Regions from separate parts of the Homo sapiens genome. Here region 2 is linked to region 1. The links are contacts of gene promoters, found by promoter capture Hi-C in blood cells and fetal thymus (Javierre and others, 2016). All regions are on one chromosome and are shown on one strand. The core of a region is centred on a gene start or on the middle of the fragment in contact, and the rest is flanking DNA. Distances in the headings are between cores, read along the strand shown. Region 1 holds the start of MRPS15 (mitochondrial ribosomal protein S15). Region 2 overlaps MAP7D1 (MAP7 domain containing 1).

Region 1 (2,817 bases), core at 190-2,689:
CATGTCCAGCCAATAATTTCTTTCTTTTTTGTTTTTTTGAGATGGAGTCTCGCTCTGTCACCCAGGCTGGAGTGCAGTGGCACGATCGGCTCACTGCAACCTCCACCTCCCAGGTTCAAGCGATTCTCCTGCCTCAGCCTCCTGAGTAGCTGGGATTACAGGCGCGCGCTACCACACCTGGCTAATTTTTTTCTGTATTTTTAGTAGAGACGAGGTTTCACCATGTTGGCCAGGCTGGTCTCGAACTCCTGAACTCAAGTGATCTGCCCACCTTGGCCTCCCAAAGTGTTGGGATTACAGGCGTAAGCCACCGCGTCCGGCCCCAGATAATAAATTCTAATATATACTATCAATATATTTAATTGAGCACAGCGTTAAGGGTGCTTTTCGTGTATTATCGCTGAATCCTAACAATCCTTGCAAATGGATACTTTCACACTCATTTTAGAAATAAGAATCAGAGAGAGGAAGTACCTTGCCCCATATCATTTACCTAATAAGAAGGATCTTAACTACTATGCATACTGAGTTGCAATGGGAAATTACATCCTGCATCTCAGAAGCGCAGACACAAAGTGCCATACTCTAGGTAGGCCTGGGTGGTGCCAGCCATGCACTCCCTCTGGGAAGCTCATTTTCACTCATTCACCTGGAAAGCTCCTGCTCCCGCCCTTCACACCCCTCTGTCCCCATACAGGCTGCAGGCCTAGGGCTTTGTGTAAGGTGGACGTGGGGTCTTTTGCTCAGGACCTCTGGCTCACCTCATCTAGTGGCTCTAATTCGCCACATCGGTCCCCTTACCCACCCCAGCCTTCCAGGAGGTCTCTCTTCCGCCCCAAGTCCCACCTTAGGAACTCCTACCTGGTTTCCGGACGACATATCCGCGCGCGGCCTGGAGGAGGAGACCTACGCAGAAAAGAGAGGGCTGAGGACCATCTCCTTAAATAGCCCACCCCTCAGTTCCTTTCTGTGCCCCTCGCATTGCCCGTCCGCCACGGTCTATGCGCTTCTGAACCTAACCGCTGCCCCATTTCTTCCCTACCCCTTGTCTCTCACATCTTGTTTCACCTCTTGCGCAACCACCGCCCTTTCCCCCTTATCCTGACCGCTGTATATCTCCCCTACTCCTGTGCTTCCTTATTCCCTATCTTCGCCGAACCCTGTTTCCCTACGCCCGCCGTCCCATTTCTCAGCTCCTCACTTCGAGGCTGCAGGCCCCACTGGTTGAAAGGAAACTTGGCGCTCCCACCGCCCGGCAGCCCGGGTACTAGGACCTGGGTAACTGCCCGGGTCCGAATCAAACTCAGCGTCCTCCACGCGACCCTCAGCATGGTGACCTCTAACCCCCGCGGGGCCCGCGCCGCGGCCGCCGTTCGCTTTGCGGCACGGACCGGGTTACATGGGCGCCGCCATGCTGGCCCAGGATCGACCAATCGAGGCAGTTGCAATACCGGAGCAGACGAAGACCGAGAGAATGGATTAGGTGGCGTGACTCTGATGACGCAACGCACGGGGCGGAGCTCAGAGACCGGGTTCCCGCTGCGCGTGATCGGGCCGTGGTGGTTGTGTGCCCACGTTTAGCAGCGTGCTGGGGTGCTGTATAAATTCTAAAATGCCACTTTTTGGAGGGCATGCGTTCCGTCCTTAATCTCATTCCTGGCCCTCGGGCCAGGGTTATTTTGGGAGGTCCATGGCGCCTGCGGTAGCCTTCTACCCCCAACCCAATCCCCTCTCCACCCCACCTCACCCCTCCCTTAGACAAGGATGGGACCGTGTAAGAACTACTACTGGGTTTCAGCCATGTCTCTGGCAGCCTCGTAGCCTGGAGACTAAAGTCGCTGAGTTTGGAATCGCACAGTCCTGGTCTGGAATCCTAACTCAGCCATTTACTCAACATGTGATCTTGTGGGCAAGTCACTTAACCTATGTGGGCCCTGTAGGGATAGTAATAACAATATCTCTCTTTTAGGTTGTTGAGAGGATTAACTGAGTTGTATGCAGACCACCTGGTATATAGTGAGCATTTAGTAAATCTTTACGGTGACGTTATTTGTGAAATGAGTGGTGTAAGGGTGGATACAAATTAGAAGAAAAAGAAAATTTAATTTTCCCTGGCGCAAAAAGGGAAAAGACTCCTTCCCCTCACTTTTCTGAGAGCATTTACTTTAGAAAACTTGTAATTGTGAATACTTTCTCTACTGCTTTGCGATGAATGTAAATCTTCTTAAAAGGTAAATAAACCTCTTGCCAGTTTTACAACCCCGGAATGTTTTTCTCAAGGACCTGGGGGCCAACCCTTTGAAATGTAATAATTAAGGAAGATAGTGCTCTCTCTCAGTTCCTGTGGGAGGGTAGGAGCCTAACTTCAGTTGGTGCCTAGCTCTTAGTTGCAACCTACCCTTTGTTATAAAGATAGGGGAAATCGATTTTTCCTTTGGATAAAGGCAATTAGCAGACACAGGTGGCTTCCCACTTACCAGGTAAATTTAGAGTGAGGTGCAGCCAAGTCCTCTTGCTTGAGGACCAGTTATTGTTTATCTTGAGAAAATGGATACAGTAAGTTGTATTCACTTTGCTACATAAAAGAGTAAGATTTTTGTCTCTTTGCAGTCTCTTTAGTGGATCACCAGTGTATCACATTCCGGTTTAATGCTTATTCAATAATAACACTGTTTTCTTTCTTTTCTACCCTTGTGAAGAGGTTTTCTGCGTTGGCAGGGGATTTTGTCTTTAATTTTATTTCCCCAACAGGGGTTAGTTTTTCCAAAGTCTCTTCACCGTGTCCCACCGCACTGTCACTCCCCCCGTGTAACCCAT
Region 2 (2,787 bases), core at 63-2,562, 290 kb before region 1:
CTGTGTTAGAATATCTGGGCACCTGTACAACTGCAGGCACATTTGCTTCTGAATGTGCCACTGTAGGCCCCTGTAACTGTTTACTGTCAGTACCTGTGTTCGTACATGTACCCCATGTGTCTGTATGTATGCAGGTATGCATCTGTGTGAGCGTGCCTAGCTCTGTGACATGGGTAAAGCCCTAGCTTGAGTGCTGGTGAGGAAATGAAGGAAATGGCCACCTGGCCCTACCTGGGAGGGCCTCAGGCTAGAGGGAACACATAGCCCCAAGGTCAGGACCCTCAGTGCCTGAGATGTGGCCTTGCCTGGGAGCCCCAGGTAGGGGGAGTCCACCCAATCCTCAGAGAATCAACTCATGCACTCAGGAAATGACTCAGGAACAGTGAAAAGCTCCCCAAGAACAAGTTGAAAGGGATCTTGGTCCTTAATCATAGCAAGGATTTGGTAACCTTGGTTACCTGCAATGAGTCAGGAAAAGACTCCAAGGGAAGGGAGTGGGGGAGGCATTGTCACAGGAGGAAGAAGGGCCTCTATCCCAAATTCGATGAATGTTCTGAGTCCACATCTCTCTCTTCTCCCCACCTTCCCCCAGGAGCGCTATGAAGCAGCCATCCAACGGTCAGTGAAGAAGACGTGGGCCGAAATCCGGCAGCAGCGCTGGTCCTGGGCAGGGGCCCTGCACCACAGCTCTCCAGGACATAAGACCAGTGAGTAGGCTGGAGGGGCTGGGGAGTGGGTGGGCAAGGCTGGGATGGCAAGTAAGGGAAGGGAACAACTTCCCTACAAAAAGCTGGTGGCTCCCTGCAGCAGGTGTGCCTTGCTTTATGTGACTTGTGTCTTCTAGAATGGTCTGTAAGCCAAACTGTCCCTTCCCAAGGACTTCCACTATCAAATCAGAGATGGATTCTCTCCATTTGGTTTGCTCTTCAAACCTCTGTCATTTTAGGATTAGCCTTCTTTGCGCCTGTCAATTATTATTAGTTGTTGATACATAAAAGACTTTAATGACCTACAGACACTGGATCTTAAAGAAACTGTCACTCCTTGTCTCGGAAGGTAGATTTTTGTCTCTGAGTTTTCTCCGCGTAGGGCCACCATGGATTTTGGTCTGATTCTTTGCTGGCATGTATGTACCACTGTGCTTGGATGTCTTTATGCAATGGCAAGTTTCAGTATTTCTAGCTGTGTATCTTCTGTTTATGTGCTCCTGGACCCGTGCATTGTGTGTCTTAATATGTGTTTGCCTTGGCGTGTTTGTGACCTTGTGTACCTCAGTGAGGGCTCCTAAGTCAGACAGACTTGGGTTCCAGCTCTGGCACTTGCAGCGTAACCTTTAACTTCTCGAAGTCTCACTTTCTTCATCTATAAACTGGGGATAGTGATACTACTTGCCCCTGAGGTGGTAGATAGATGTTTGAAGGATCAAATGAGGTCACATGTGTGTGGTGCCCCACACAGTACCTGGCACATGGTAAGCATCAACAAATGTGAGCTGCTACAAATGTCATGATGAGGTTGCTTCGATCTGTTTGTGGCTTGTGTGCATCTGGGTCTGACACACTATCTGTTAGTGTTTGTGTCTCTGTCCCTGTGCATGTCTGCACACATGTGTGCATGCCGAAGTATCTGCCACTCTATATGCCTGTGTCTGCATGTCTTTTTGTGATTCTGGATGAACACGTGGATTTGTGCAAGTGACTGTGACTGTGTAGGTCCTGTTTAGGAGGGTTTTTGCATTTATCCCAGTACGGGGGTGTTGTATCCAAACGTCTTGGCTGGGCAGTGTCAGCAAGTGCTAATGCTGGGTGGTTATGGGGAGGGGTTGCAGTACTCAGCCGTAAGGAATGGCTTCCTTGGTCTGGCCAGGAAAGCTGTAGTTTCTCTAGTTTTACTCATCTCCTCCCTTTGTTCCTTCTCCGTCGGCTCCCCCAACCCAGGTTGTCTCTGGTCACCTACCCCCCCACCCTCCCTCTCCCAGGGCCAAGGCTGCCTCCTGCTCCTCATCCTAGCCTGCCCACTCCTCCCTCTCCCACCCCGCCCTCGGAGCATCCTGCATGGAAGGCCTCGGTGCCCCCCACTGGCTCCTGCCGGGCCCGGCCCTAATGCCGTGTCTTTTCCCCCTCCAGGTGGGAGCAGGTGCTCCGTGTCGGCAGTTAACCTGCCCAAACACGTGGACTCTATAATCAACAAGCGGCTCTCAAAGTCCTCTGCCACGCTCTGGAACTCCCCCAGTAGAAGTAAGAGAAGGCCCAGCCCTTCCCCCTCCAGAGCCCCTTGTAGCTCCCACCAAGCCTCCTCCAGAGCTCAGCAAGAACACCAGGTCCCTGGAGCCCTCACATACTCCAGGTCCCCATCCCCACTCTACCTTACCCAGGGCTCTGTGCCCCTCGGGGGAGCCGGCATATGGGTCTGGACCCTGAGGACAGAGGTTGCCCTGTAGGAGAGGAGAACAGAGACAAAGCACAATGCCGCAGAGGGCAGGAAGCCTGGCAGGAGCCTCAAGAGCAAGTTGGAGGTGGTGGCTGGGGGTGGGGACAGGCAGGCAGCCTTTTCTGCAACCACAGCCAGCTGGTCTGGGCCAACCTTAGCCAGGTGGCATTGTCCCCATGTGTCAGACTGGCCTGGGTGCTGTGGGGTGGAGGGGTCCCTCATTCTGGCTCCACCCTAGAGGGCCCATGCAATCCTGCCCTCTCTGTCTTCAGAGCCCCAGTCATGGCCTTGGCTGGTCCCAGAGTTGAGCCAACCAAGGTGGCATAGCCCCTGCATTCCCACCATGCCCTGGTGCTC

Evidence for each region. Contacts are between HindIII fragments. The CHiCAGO score rates a contact against its expected background, and 5 or more counts as called.
Region 2: a contact is called between a fragment that was not itself captured here and the fragment with the promoter of MRPS15 in region 1, in 1 of 17 cell types (neutrophils). The highest score is 5.6, in neutrophils.

Annotation. Positions count from the first base shown.
Region 1 is chr1:36,462,945-36,465,761 of GRCh38, forward strand. It overlaps MRPS15 (mitochondrial ribosomal protein S15), which reads right to left and starts at 1,440. Exons shown (of 8, transcript NM_031280.4): 1 at 1,202-1,440; 2 at 862-906. The coding sequence starts at 1,331. RefSeq lists enhancers at 448-1,351, 747-1,946, 1,346-1,595, 1,352-2,253. The HindIII fragment of the contact is 11,955 bases long and covers 1-2,817 here.
Region 2 is chr1:36,172,772-36,175,558 of GRCh38, forward strand. It overlaps MAP7D1 (MAP7 domain containing 1), which reads left to right. Exons shown (of 17, transcript NM_001388490.1): 5 at 593-707; 6 at 2,127-2,237. Among named protein-coding and RNA genes, the nearest start is that of MAP7D1, 18 kb to the left of the region's middle. RefSeq lists an enhancer at 1-976 and a silencer at 2,579-2,668. The HindIII fragment of the contact is 7,110 bases long and covers 1-2,787 here.